Regions from separate parts of the Homo sapiens genome. Here region 1 is linked to region 2. Evidence: promoter capture Hi-C in human tissues and cell types (Jung and others, 2019). All regions are on one chromosome and are shown on one strand. Each heading gives the region's core, a stretch centred on a gene start or on the middle of the fragment in contact. The rest is flanking DNA. Distances are from core to core; before and after follow the strand shown. Region 1 overlaps AKAP7 (A-kinase anchoring protein 7). Region 2 holds the start of MED23 (mediator complex subunit 23).

Region 1 (7,378 bases), core at 1,349-3,848, 440 kb after region 2:
ATATTCCTAACAGTAGTATAATCTATTGCTTAGGGTATTAGGTAATGGTTCGAGCAATGTCATATTTGGGATGAGAAAAGTTTTTACTAATATGAAACCTACATGTCATTTTTCATCTGTGTTAACAACTTACACAGAAGTTGGAAGTCCTGGAAGAGAAGCTTATGAATAATTGAGATTGCTTAATTCCTCCCAGTACCACAGGCATTCCTTCAAGCACTAAACCAAAAATCACAAAACACATACATCAGATATCCTTCAAAAAGTCAGGTAAGGGTGCCTCCTAAATAATATAACTTATAACTGAAGATGAAAATTGTCTGAAGAACAACTACTTAAAAATATATTTACATACAAGGACACTTTGCTATATAAAAGAATACTGAAATAAACAATTTAATAGAGAAACAACACATTTGTAACCCTAACAAATACAGCTTTATCTGTTTTTTAGGCTTTACATATTTTTTTCTATAGGAGATTTTCTTTAGGTGAACTCTTTAAAATATGTAGCAGCAATAAATTTACATAATAATCTTAAAATGCAAAGAAGTTGTTAAAAGTTGTCTCAAAGTAAACTGTAACAGATCAATTTTAACAAAGTCATGTTTCTACTTATATACCCTTTTTGCAAGATAAATATTTACCCCTTCTTTCCAAGCTTTTGCTATTTTCTCCCTTTCTCTAATATTGTTAAAGATGTTTATACGATCACATGATCTCCAATTTGAGAATAATCAAAAAGAGGTTTATTAATAAGAATAGTCTAGAATGCTAAAAGGAATTAAGTTCATTATATTACTAAACTTATACAGATAATCCTCAAACTACAAAGGTTCAATTTATGATTGTTTGATTTTACAATTGTGCAAAAGCAACATGTGTTCAGTAGAAACTGTACTTGTAAATTTTGAATTTTGGTCTTTTCCCAGATAGCAATATGCAGTATGATATTCTCTCTCAATGCCAGAAAGCAGCAGCGAGCTGCTCCCAGCCAGTCACAGGATCACAAGGGTAACAACAAACACTCTATAGTGTGTTGTGTTGCCAGATGATTTTTTTGCCCAGCTATAGGTTAATGTTAAGTGTTGTGGGCACATTCAAGGTAGGCTAGACTAAGCTATATTTTCAGGTAGGTTAAATGTATTCAATTCATTTTCAAGTTACAATAGGTTTATTAAGATGTAACTGCACCATAAGTCAAGTATCTCTATATATTATTTCAGTATGTGGATGTCACAAAAATGGCAAGTTCAATTTTTGATTTGGGGCTAGGCGAGGTGGCTCATGCCTATAATCCCAGTACTCTGGGAGGCCAAGGAGGGAGAATTGCCTGAGCCCAGGAATTTGAGACCAGCCTGGGCAACATGGTGAAACCCTGTCTCTACAAAAAAAAAAAAAAAAGAAGTACAAAAATCAGCCAGGTGTGATGGCCTATGCCTGTAGTCCCAGCTACTCAGGAGGATGAAATGGGAAGCTCACCTAAGCCCAGGGAGGTCAAGGCTGCAGTGAGCTGTGATGACACCACTGTACTCTAGCCTGGGTGACAGAGTGATACACGGTCTTAAAAAACAAAACAACAACAACAACAAAACTAATGTGTAATTAAACAATAGCAAGCATGAGTATTTTCCATGTCTTCCAATTGCAAGATACTTTCTACTACTATTGTAAGTTATGCTAAAATTGTGTCACATATAATACGAAAAATCTCAATAAAATTTTAAAATCACTTTTCGTCACCTGAAACTTTAAAGAAATAAAAGCCATAAAGCTGTTTTTGTTGTTCCTATAATATTACTATTAACATTTAAAGCATTCCTGTATCCACATACTGCTTAAACAGTTCCATTTTAGACAGTCTTAGCAAGTCACTTGAACTATGTTTCAATATAAAGGCTGACATAATGCTGAAACCAACTTCAATTTAAAAATTTTATAGTCCTCATCTTAAATAGATATTTCCAGTTGATTACTGTGTAAAACTGACAAGTAGAATTTTTAAGTGTCATTCTTAAAAGCACATCTTTAAAATACATCTTGATGCCAGAGGAATTCTACTCATTCTACCACAGTTGATAAAGAGAACCAGACTGAGCCTTCTAACTCCAACCCAGTTCTCCCATTATTTAGTTTGTGCTCCTAGACACATCACTTAACACTGATAGTAAAAGTGATGAGACCATAATAAATTGTCTCTCAGGTCCCTTCTTATCCTAACAACCAGCAAATCCAAGTGAACTGCCAGAGAGAGTTCTGGTACATCACCCTTAGGGGATTCTAGAACACCAGGACTGGGTTTAATTTTCATGCAAAGATTTAGACACAAATGTAAATGAGGGAAGAGAGACTACCTAAAGTTAAATGTTCTTTCAAGTAAACTTTTATGTGTACATCACACTTTTTTTTCATTGCTTTATGTATTAAAATATATTTATTGAATCTCTACTATGTGGCAGGAATTGAGGACACAAAGACGGAAGATTCCCTCAAAGACCTTTCAATTCTGGTTGGGAAAGTTAGATTTCTAAACAATTACACTAACTTGTTATAGTTTCTACAGTAGAGATATAGGGGATAAGAGGATAAAATGATCATTTCTACTTTGGAGAAAAAAGGCCTTTATTTTTAAAGTGACACTTGAAATAAGTCTCTATGAAAGGTCAGTGATACAATGTGAAAGGAAATTAAGAAAACAATTGCATCAACATTATAAATAAAATTATAAAATAATTAGGAATACAAAAATTTTAAAATACTTAGGAATAAACTTAACCAAGGAGGTGAAAGATGCATATTCTGAAAACTATGAAACATTGCTAAAAGAAATTAAAGAAAATACAAATAAATGAAAAGACATCCTGCCTGTTTTAATGAACCGAAGGACAACATATTGTTAAAATGCCAATACTGCTCAAAGCAATCTAATGATTTAATGTAACCCTATCAAAATCCCAATGGTATTTTCTGCAGAAATTTAAAAAAAATCCATCCTAAAATTCATATTGAACCTCAAGGATCTCTGAATAGCAAAACAATCTTGATAAAGAAGATCAAAGTTAGAGATTTTACACTTCTGATTTCAAAAGTTACTACAAATCTACAGTAATCAAGACGGTGTAATATATGCATAAAGACAAATATATAGGCTAATGAAATAGAATAGAAAGCTCAAAAATAAACCCTCACATATATGGTTGCTATGGTCTGAATGTTTGTGTCCCTCCAAAATTCTTACGTTGAGACCTAATCCCCAAGGTAAAGGTATTAAGAGGTGGGGCCTTTGGGAGCTGATTAGGTCACAAGAGGTCTGCCTTCATTAATGGGATTACTGTCCTTAAAAGAGATTTTGGGGTCCTAAATCACTTTTGTCTTTTGTCTTTGTCCCTTTTGCCCCTCCACCATGTGAGGATACAGTGTTCTCCCCTTCCACTAGGTGAGGATGCAGTAGCAAGGTGTCATCTGTGAAGCAGAGAGCCCTCTCCAAACACTAAATCTTCTGGTGACCTGATCTTGAACTTCCCATTTCCAAAACTGTGATGAATAAATTTCTGTTGTTTATAAATTACCCAGTCCAGGAATTTTGTTATAACAGCAGGAAGGTCAAATGGTTTCAACAACTGTGCCAAGATCATTCAATGAGAAAAGACAGTTGTATTACGCCATTTCTGCATTGCTATTTAAAAAAAAAATACCTGAGACTGGATAACTTATAAGAAAAGAGACTTTAATTGGCTCACAGTTCTGCAGGCTGTACAGGAAGCATAATGCCAGCATCTCCTTCTGGGGAGGCCTCAGGAAGCTTACAATCCATGGCAGAAGGCACAGGGGAGCGGGCATCTCACAGGGTGGGAGCAGGAATAAGAGAGAGAGGGGAAGGTCCCACACACTTTTAAATGACCAGATCTCACAAGAACTCACTCACTAGCATGAGGATGGTACCAAGAGGATGATGATCCAATCACCTCCCACAAGGCCCCACCTCCAACACTGGGGATTACATTTCAACATACAATTTGAGAAGGGATAACATACAAACTACATCAGCAGTCTTTCAACAAATGGTGCTAGGAAAACTGGATATCCACATGCAAAAGAATGAAGTTAGTCCCTTACACCTTACACCATATACAAAAATTAACTCGAAATGGATCAAAGATCTAAACATAAGAGTTAAAATTATAAGACTCTTAAGAAAAAACATAGAGGGAAAGGTTCAAGACATTAGATTTGGCAATGATTTCTTGAGTGTGACACCAAAGCACAGGCAACAAAAGTAAAAACAGATAAATTGGACTACATAAAAATTTAAAACTTTTGTGCATCATAGGATATAATAGAATGAAAAGGCCACCTATGGAGTGGGAGAAATATTTGCAAATCGTATATCTGATAAGAGATTAACATTCAGAATTTAAAGAACTCCTTCAAATCAACAACAAAAGACAACTTGGTTTAAAAATGGGCAAAAGGCTTGAATAGGATTTCTCCGTAGAAGAAACACAAACGGCAAAAAGCACAGGAAAAGATGTTCAACATCACTAATCATCAAGGAATTGCAAATCAAAACCACAAATGAAATACCACCTCATACCCATTAGAATGGCCATTACTGGAGGGAGAGAAGCAAGGAAAATGGCACCTGTGGTGGTGAATGCAATGAAGTTCCTTGGGAGCAGTACTACAAAGATGCCATGGAGCAGGGCCACAATTACAATGCCCACCTCTGTGCTGAGCACAGCATGTGCCTGCCTTTCTTGGCCTCACAGACTGGAGTAGCCCAGAACAATTATTACAGCTGGATGAAGAAGTAACCAGGTTCTAGGATTGGCCTCTGGACAACTACTCGTACCCTGCCCAGCACTGGCGGAAAAAGCGGTGAGCCCACCCCTGTGAAGATCCACAATTTTTCTTCCCACCTATTAAGCCAGACACAGACCCCACCCTGAAGAAGGAGGGGCTGATCTCTCAGGACAGCAGCAGTTTAGAGGTTCTGTTGCACACTGACCCCCTGGGGAAGCGAGGTACCCCAGATCCCCGAGTTGATGATGACAGCCTGGGCAAGTTTCCTGTGACAAACAGTCAAGCACGAAAGCGGATCCTAGAACCAGATGACTTCCTGGATGACCTCGATGATGAGTACTGTGAAGATGCTCCCAAGCATCGGGGAAAGGGGTAATCCAAGGGTAAAGGTGTGGCAGTGCCCATAAGGAGCTGGATGCTTCCAACCTGGAGGACCAGGATAAGCCCTATGCCTGTGACATTTGTGGAAAACGTTACAAGAACCGACCAGGCCTCAGTTACCACTATGCCCACTCTCACTTGGCTGAGGAGGGCGAGGACAAAGAAGACTCCCAACCACCCACTCCTGTTTCCCAGAGGTCTGAGGAACAGAAATCCAAAAAGGGTCCTGATGGATTTGCCTTGCCCAACAACTACTGTAACTTCTGCCTGGGGAACTCAAAGATTAACAAGAAGATGGGACAACCTGAGGAGGTGGTGTCCTGTTTCGACTGTGGCTGCTCAGGGCATCCATCTTGCCTCCATTTCACCCCCATGATGATGGGGCAGTGAAGACATACTGCTGGCAATGCATCGAGCACAAATGTTGCGATATCTGCGGCACCTCTGAAGATGATGACCAGCTGGGCTTTTGTGATGCTGCGATCATGGCTACGAAATGTACTGTCTCACTCCGTCCATATCTGAGCCCCCTGAAGGAAGTTGGAGGTGCCACCTGTGTCTGGACCTGTTGAAGGAGAAAGCTTCCATCTACCAGAACAAGAACTCCTCTTGATATAGCCACCCCCCTGCTCCCCGACATATCTAAGGCTGTTTCTCTCCTCCACTTCATTTTTCATACCCACCTTTCCCTTCCTCCTCCTCTCCTTCACAAGTCCAGAGAACCTTGGGGTGGTTGTTCTAGCCTGCCTTTGGCAGCCACAAGCTGATGTGGCAGCTCTGGCCACCTCTGGCCCTAGGCCCTCAAGGAGAAAGGAGCAACACACTGCCCCAAGGCATACCTGTGGGCCCAGTTTCTCTCTGCTCTCCATGAAATGCATTCATTCTGCTTGCCTTGGGCCCAGGCCCTGGTCATCACAGGGTTCAAACAGTGTCCTCCTAGAAAGAGTGGGAGAGCAGCTCACTTCTCTCTCTGTTCTGCCTCCACTCTGGTCTCCAGAGTTTTCCCATCCCCCAGAGGCGAGCCAGGCCAGAGCCTCTGCCCAAGGCAGCTGGTAGCGAGCAGCTGAGGCCACAGCCACAAGGAGCTTTCCATGCCCCTGTGTCACTTAGCCTCACCTCCTTCCTCCAGAGTGGCTCTCTGCAGCCCTCTGTTCCTGCTACGTAGGATTCTTTGCTGGAGTCAGGATGTTCTCGGTCACCCTCCTGGCTCTGCCCTGTCCCAGTCCACCCCACCCCAGGGGGAGCAGCAGCTTCACCTTGTGCTTCCCAGTGCTCTCCAGGCTCACTCTCATGGGCGGGCTCCAGTGACTAAAGCATTCCCCACCCTTGGAATGTCTCATCTTCTACCTCTCTTCTTATTCATTTTGGTTTTGTGGGGAGAGGGGAAGGATCAGGGGGCCAGGCCAGCAGCTCAAGGGCCACAGGGAGATGGGTAATGTGCCTGTTTTTTTAACACAACAAAAAAGCCTACCTCCAAAATCCCCTTTTTGTTCTTCCTGGACCTGGGCATTCAGCCTCCTGCCCTGAACTGAATTGGGAGCCTTGCCACCTGCCCTGTGTATCCTGGCTCTCAGCTCATGGGGAAGCCACACAGACATCCCTTTCTTCCCCTGCATGCTCGCTAGCAGCTGGTAAGGTCTTCACACTCTGATTCCTCAAGTTTTCTGCTTAGTGGCACTGACATTAAGTAGTGGGGGGCCAGTGCATGCCAGCATACCCTGGAGTAGCCTTCCCCCTTGGCCGCAGGCAGGCCCTAACTCACTGTCACTTTGAAGTTGTCTTTTTTTTCCTTTCGTTAGTTCCTGTATTCTAAACATCAGTAAACATAAACGTTTTTACACAGAGCCCTCTGCTGGATGGTTTATCTCCTGCCTCTCTCCATTAAGAAGGCCTTTTCATCCTAAGATTTCCATGACGGTGGTTTTTTTAAACATTTTGAAATACAGCTTTTTTTCCCCCAAAATTAAATTTTTTTTGTTGAACTCCAATATGTAAAGCGAATATAAAATTGGTTATTTTGCTAGTTTTAATTAGTTACATAAATTCAAGTTTACAACAATTCTTTGTTATAAAGAACGATGAAGCTGTTTTGATCAATACAAAATTTGGGTTAAAAAAAAAGGGCCATTATCAAAAAAATAGAAAATAACAAGTGTTGGAGCCCTAGTACACTGCTGGTGGGAATGTAAAATAG
Region 2 (7,121 bases), core at 3,848-6,347:
TCCACATGGCTGGGGAGGCCTCAGGAAACTTACAATCATGGTGGAAAGCAAAGGAGAAGTAAGAACCTTCTTCACGTGGTGGCGGGAGAAAGAAGAGAATGTGTGCATAGGAGGTACCGTCAAACACTTATAAAACCATCAGATCTCGTGAAAATTCACTATTATGAGAACAGTATGGGGGATACCACCCCCAGAATCCAATCACTTCCCTCCCTCAACATGTGGAGACTACAATTCAAGATGAGATTTGGGTGGGGACACAAAGCCTAACCATATCACCAACATACTACTGACTCTTACTCTGTATCTTTACTAAGTGATTCCTTATGTTCTACACTGCCAGAATTTCACTTCTCTCTTCCTTCATCCTCATCCCTCATCCCTTTTCTCTTTTTTTAATTAAAAAAATTGTGGGTACATAGTGAGTATATCCCTATCCCCTTTCAACCCTGAAAAACACACAAAAAAATCCTAGGTGGGGAAGTCAGGGGGCCTCTGATAAAGGCTTAGCTTGTAAGTGACTGTCTGTGTTACAAATTAAGTGATTCTGGACATTGAATTCTTCATTTTTAAGAATTATCAGAGATTATTAGATTATCTCTAAGTCACTAAATTTTGGATATGATAATAGGGACACATCCTAGTCCTTCAGGTCCTAAGATGAATAAACCTCAAGGAATCTACCTATGTATAATACAAGTAGGTATAGTGAAGATGGTTGGCATTGCCAAGTTGCTAGCCATATTTTTGGCTATAACAATTTCTCTAACTGAACTCTAAACCCCAACCTCTTTTGAGTCTTTCAAGTTCTAGAAACTTATTCCTGGCTGGATGCAGTGGCTCACACCTGTAATCCCAGCACTTTGGGAGGCTGAGGCAGGAGGATCACTTATGTCAGTTTAAGACCCACCAGGGCAACATAGTGAGACCCTGTCTCTACAAAAAATGAAAAATAAAAAATTATCCAGGAGTTATGGTGCATGCCTGTAGTCCTAGCTACTCGGGAGGCTGAGGTGGGAGAATATGGGGAGGATTGCTTGAGCCCAGGAGTTTGGGGCTGTAGTGAGCTATGATGGCACCACTGCATTCCAGCATGAGCAGCAGAGTAAGACCATCATCTCAAAAAAGAAAGAAAAAAAGAAAGAAAGAAACTTAACAGTTCACCTGATCAATAGACACAAGCCAAAACCACACCTTCCATGCAAGTTAGACTTTGGAATAGACTGCCTGTGTCACTTAAATCTGAACCTACACTTTCTAAGTTAACTGGACCTTGAAAGTTTGCCTATTCTTTTCTTCTTTAACTTTAGAACAATCTGTACCTTCTCTTCTTTTCTTCTTCAACTTCAGAACAACCTGTACCTTCTTGGTTCTGAAACTTTACTCTGAACATTAAAATGTTCAGAGTAATTTGTAAGTAAGTTAATGGCTTAGAACGCTTGCATTCTGAGAGGCAGCTACCATTACATCACCCATCAATGTAAACCGTAAACATTCCTCATGTTACAGAAGGTCTCAGTGTCCACAGAATTCTGGCAACAAATGGGTTGTTGTTGTCTCAGAAAAGCCCTAGGGGCCTGCCAACATCAACTTCTTTGTCTCAGGAACCTGCCCTTCCTGGTTCCAGTGCTAGATCTTGGGTGATAGGTGGACAAGCTAGACTGGGAGAGCCCAGAGAAACTAATCGCACTGAGGAGGGTGGTAGAGGTGAGGCGGATGCTAGGCTCAGGTCCAACAGCAAAAGGAAGAAGGAGTCCACAAAGGAAGGGAGACCTCACATAATAACATAATGCCAGAGATAGATGGGCAGGTGACTAACTTCAGGGAGGGCCAGTCATGAGGAAAAAGCAGAAAAACCTACAAGGAGATTGACAAGCACACAAAGCAATCAGAAAGCTAACCAGGTAGGCAGTTGGTATAGGAAGGACAGAAGCTAATCCTCAGCAAGTGGAGATCCAACACTGAAGCTGAATTGAGAACTGGCTGTCTTGGTGAGACTGATGTCAGCAGTGCCAAACCAGGTCTGAGAGGCAATGGTACACACCAGGAGACAAAGCAGACACCCAGCATGGAATAGAGAGCCCAGCTCTAGTCCTCCAAACAATGACTATGGCAAAGTAGAATCAATGGTCACAGTTTGATACCGCTGTTTGCCAGTACCTATGTGTGTGAAAAGATATTTTCTGACTAAATAAGTAAAAATCTCATTACTGATCAGCACAATGAACATCTATAATCAATTTGGAGATGAGAAACCTGATGTGATGACTCCTGTGGTGTAGCAATTGTTTTCTACTGAACGATCAGCATTCCTAAGGTTGTCTCTGGTTCATGGAAGACTGTTTCTCTTACTTTGTCTCAAGTACAGAAATATTCCCTAGTAGTGTTAGATTTCTAGGAGCCCTTTCTTGTTCATTTTGAAACTCAGAAATCTTTGGATTTCCAAACATTTTCCAGGTTTTCATAGGCTCTTCTCATTTTTAGTGTACTCATGAGGGCCTCATTTATGACTCAAATTCTAGAGATGTCTCCAGAAGAGACATTATAAAACAACCATGCTGCCTGGGCTCTCCGAGGTAGAGCTCAGTGTCACAGTGCTCCCACGGTGCCCATCCATGAAGCAGAAGGTACAGGCCACGTACTGTTTACATCTCTGAAACCTGGCATGAACCAAGTTATTTCCCCAAACCTTTAAACTCCTCTCTGCCGTGTCAACTCCGTGGTGGCAGGAACTAGGTCAGTTTGAGCTTACAGTCTTGTTCTAGTGTCTAGCACAGTGGCCAACACCTAGAAGACATTCAATGAACACTTGCTGAATAAATTTTGTAACGGTTTCAGAAATAACATTAGAAGTATAAGCTACCACATACATAAATGTCCAGTGAACCCAACTGTTATAAATTATAATAACTTTACTAGGTATAACTTTGTAGGTGTTCCAAATCTTTCTCTACATCCAGCATTCCAGAAATAGCTATTACCTCAGAGGAAGTCTTGTCCATAAAATAAAGGCACTTCAGATGTTTTTATTCTACCCAAAGTAATGAATAATGACTGAGCACCACCAAGTACCAGACTTTATGCCAGGTGTTAGGAAATGCAGGCATGTTTAATTTCTGTATCTACTCTAAAGAGCTTTAGTCTAGTTGAAGAAGTAGACATTTTAAACCATAATATAGTGTAATCTGTGCAATACTAGTAGTGCTAATAAAGTGCCAGGAGGAAAGAGGAAGAAATACAAATTTTTCTACAGAAAGGGATTTAGAAAGATATCTACGTGAGTTTGCTCAGACTGCTGTGAATAGCATACTATAAACTGGGGTGATTCGAGTCTCAGCAAACTGAACGCTGAGAACTCAGGCTTCTTGTTCCTTTTGGCTGCAAGAAGGTTGGCAGCCAGTCAGAACTTTACCCACTTGTAAGAGATCAGGCTTCTTGTTCCTTTTGGCTGCAAGAAGGTTGGCAGCCAGTCAGAACTTTACCCACTTGTAAGAGATTAGATGTATCTTCCTTGGTGATTCAGACCAGCCTAAGGGGAAAGACCTGATGATACCAACTTTGGGGATTCTCCAAGAAACAATGTCCCCAGAACACACTATAAAGATGCTCAAAGTTGATAAGCCCTGCCCAGCTGCTCAGAGTTTCCAGTTGGCTCTTTAGTCCCCCACTCTAAATCCTGATAGGACAAGGATGGAACAAGAAGCCTGAATTCTCAGCTTTCAGTTTGCTCAGACTCAAATTACCCCCCAGTTTATAGTATGCTGTTCACAGCAATCTAAGCAAACTCCCCTAGGTATCTTTCTAAATTCCTTTCTGTAGAAAAATTTGTATTTCCTCCTTTTCTCCCTGGCACTTTATTAGCATCACTAGTATTGCACATATCACACTCTATTATGGTTTAAAATGTCTATGTCTTCAACTAAGCTAAAGCTCTTTAGAGTAGATACATGGGCCCTAACCTGACTGATGTCCTTCTAGGAAGAGAAAATTACGACACAGACATGTACAAAGGGAAGACCATGTGAAGACACAAGGAGAAGAAGGTCATCTACAAGCCAAGGACAGAGGCCTCTATAGAAACTAACCCTATCAACCTCAACCTCAGACTTCCAGCCTCCAGAATTACAAGAAAAGAAATTTCTGTTGTTTAAGCCACCCAGTCTGTGGTATTTTGTTATGGCAACCCTAGCAAACAATACCCTAAGCCTAACTTTTCAAGTTTTTCTCCAGCAGGAAATCTGAATTATTTCTTTTCAGCTTTTAGTAGCTATTGTGTGGACAACATGGTTGCATGTGCATATTAAAGTTGTTAGAAAACTAAATTTATGCCAGGTCAGACACTTGTATAACAAAACCATGAATGGGGAGTCATCAGCTCATCACTTAGCAGCTACAAAGGAGTAGTTCATGCTTAGCAGTTTGTGGCATTTCACAACCGTCAAAGAAGTGAAAGGCCTTTGGATGTCTATGACTCTCATCAACAATTTTCTTTATGAGGCAAAGAAAGCTGATCATTCAAGACATAACAGATGTTTTAGGGGTTGGTGATGATGGTGGCATATGAAGAAAAACACATACTCTCAACAATATAATAGCAAATAGAATCTAGCAATATATTAAAAAGGATAATATATTATGACCAAGTAGCATTTATACCATAGAAGCAAAATTGGTTTGGCATTCAAAAGTCAATCAATTACATTTGCACTGAGGTTATCATAGCTGAGAAGACACCGTCTCTGTGGCTTCAGCTCCTGGCTGCAGGCCGCTGATGGAGGTCCAGAAGGTCAGCTGCTCACAGACATCAACTTGGTGTCGGCTGCGGCTCCAGCATTTTCCGCAGGCTGCAGCTTCTGGGTTCCAAACTTTTCATTTCTCAGTCTGCAAGCGGGTTAGCCCCGAACAGGAAGCAACTCCTTCTCCAGCCGGGAGGTGGCGGCCTGCGGTCGACGATGCCTCCGGGGTCCTTGGGCTCAAGGTTCCGTTTGGGGGCGCTCTCGTCCGGCTTGCGGGCCGCCCTTCTCCACAGACGGAACCTTCTGGTGGCGCCGCTGGTTTCTGCGGGGTTTGCAAACGGCGCGTACCGGGCCCTTCCCGTCTTCCGTACAGGTTCCTGCTGTTGGCTGGGCTCGGGAGGGAACGCTCCAGGTAAAGCGCTGGGGGAGGAAGCGACGCCGAGGAGCTACGGTTTCCTCCAGAGGTCTCCGCCCCTCTGCCCCTATATTCCCAGAGCTCGAGTCTGATCCGGGCCTTGCCGGGCACCCTGGAAAGGCGGGGGTGATAGTACAGATGGAGACGCAACTGCAGAGCATTTTCGAAGAGGTGGTGGTGAGTGCAGCTGCCGGCCATCCAGGACTACGGCTTGGGGACGGGGAGACGCGGGGGCAGCCGACCAAGGAAACTGGCCTGGGCAACCTCCTCTCACGCCTCCCTTTTTATTCCCTTGTTTTGACACCGAGGTTGTATGCGGGGAAGTTTAGTGATTCTCAAACTGCTGTCAAGTTCATTGTATCCTTTGAAATCGATACAGTGACAGGCCAGACAGGTATTGATAGTTTCAGAGCTGATTAAGGTGACTTGCCCTGTGTTACATTGTAATACTTGGCTAAGGGAGGCGCCTTTTTAAAATTAACATTGTTTACATTTTGTTTTTTTTTTTTTTACAGAAAACGGAAGTTATAGAAGAGGCTTTTCCTGGGTGAGTGTATGCGTGGCAGAGTTTTGTGTTTTTATGTGATTGTGTCTGTCAGATTTTACTTAGTTTCGTGTTGGAAGGTTATAAGATCCACTATTCTGATTGTGTGTAATTACCTTTTTAAAACGAATGACAAATAATGTAATTTTTATTTTTTTAGCATGTTTATGGATACTCCTGAAGATGAGAAAACAAAACTAATTAGCTGTTTGGGGGCCTTCAGACAGTTTTGGGGTGGTCTTTCTCAGGTGAGCGCTTCATTTTTAATACATTCAGCTGATGATTTTTGGCCTCTTCTTTTTTTTTTTTTTTTTCTTTTAACATTTACTTTCATGCTGCTCTTAAGATCTTCCTGAGAAGGGAGAAATAAAATTGTTATCATTTTTTATTCTGGCTTCCATTTGTTTTAATTTGTATATTTCAGTGGAAAACCTGTGTTGAGAAGTCAAGTTGATACTGCACAGTGTGAGATGTTTAAAAAAAAAAACCTCCCCTATGTTAGATTAATTGAGATCATTTTCATCCTATTCGGATTTATTTGGTACACTTGAAAACAGATATGTTAAGCTTTACTTGTCAAGGATACAAATTCCATTTTTCTGCTAAATAAAGGAATTGGCACAGCATTGATACAAAGATGCTACAATAGGAATACCAAGATTCTATAATAAGGATAGGAAAATATTATAGTAAAAATGAGGAGACAAACTGTAAAAGTAACAAAGAACAGCTACCAGAAAATGTATCCGTGAAAAAGACAAAAATGTGTCATCCTCGAAGAGCTCACATTGCAGTAGTGCCTTACCTTCTCATGGTACACTATAGGTAGGGAAATGAGAACTGTTTGCGTGTCAGCCACTGGTGATAAGATTTGCCACTCAGACATGGATCATATAATGCCAATACAGTCATGTTTTAACCTTTTTGTTTAGTTGTTTTCTAATAGGTAATACATTTATATGGTTCAAAATGCACAGGTATAAAAGGGTGGATCCAATAACTAGTCTCTTTCTCTTCTCTTACCTGTTATTTTTTCTGTCTGTAGCCAATATCCTCAGGTTATGTTTTCTTCTAGAAGTATTTTATGCATATAGAAACACTTTTATAGCATGATCATATACCATGTACACTGTTCATTAATTAGCACTTTTTTTCTCCTAATAATAATCTACAGGTAATTCCCTATCAGTCCAAGCGTTACTTGTTCCTTCCTTTCTTACTTTTTTTTTTAAATAGCAGCATAATATTCCATTGTATGGCTGTACCTTCCTCCTTTTAACCAATCTTCTACTGTCTTCTAAGTTTCTTCTTACTTTTTCTAATTTAACCAATGCTGTGATGAATAATATTATGCATGAAAAATAGGATAAATTCCTAGAAATAGTATTGCTGAGTCAAAAGCCTTATCAGTTTGTAATTTTTATAG

Evidence for each region. The method cuts DNA at HindIII sites, captures the fragments that hold promoters and counts their contacts. A contact is called where the count stands out against the background at its distance.
Region 1: a contact is called between a fragment that was not itself captured here and the fragment with the promoter of MED23 in region 2, in 1 of the 25 tissues and cell types used here (spleen).

The regions. Positions count from the first base shown.
Region 1 is chr6:131,182,744-131,190,121 of GRCh38, reverse strand. The region is part of intron 5 of AKAP7 (A-kinase anchoring protein 7); the gene reads right to left. It also overlaps the pseudogene LOC100421246. Among named protein-coding and RNA genes, the nearest start is that of AKAP7, 51 kb to the right of the region's middle. The HindIII fragment of the contact is 4,373 bases long and covers 412-4,784 here.
Region 2 is chr6:131,626,218-131,633,338 of GRCh38, reverse strand. MED23 (mediator complex subunit 23) reads left to right here and starts at 5,097. Exons shown (of 29, transcript NM_004830.4): 1 at 5,097-5,328; 2 at 5,667-5,698; 3 at 5,856-5,943. The coding sequence starts at 5,290. RefSeq lists enhancers at 5,108-5,277, 5,408-5,457. The HindIII fragment of the contact is 9,048 bases long and covers 1-6,901 here.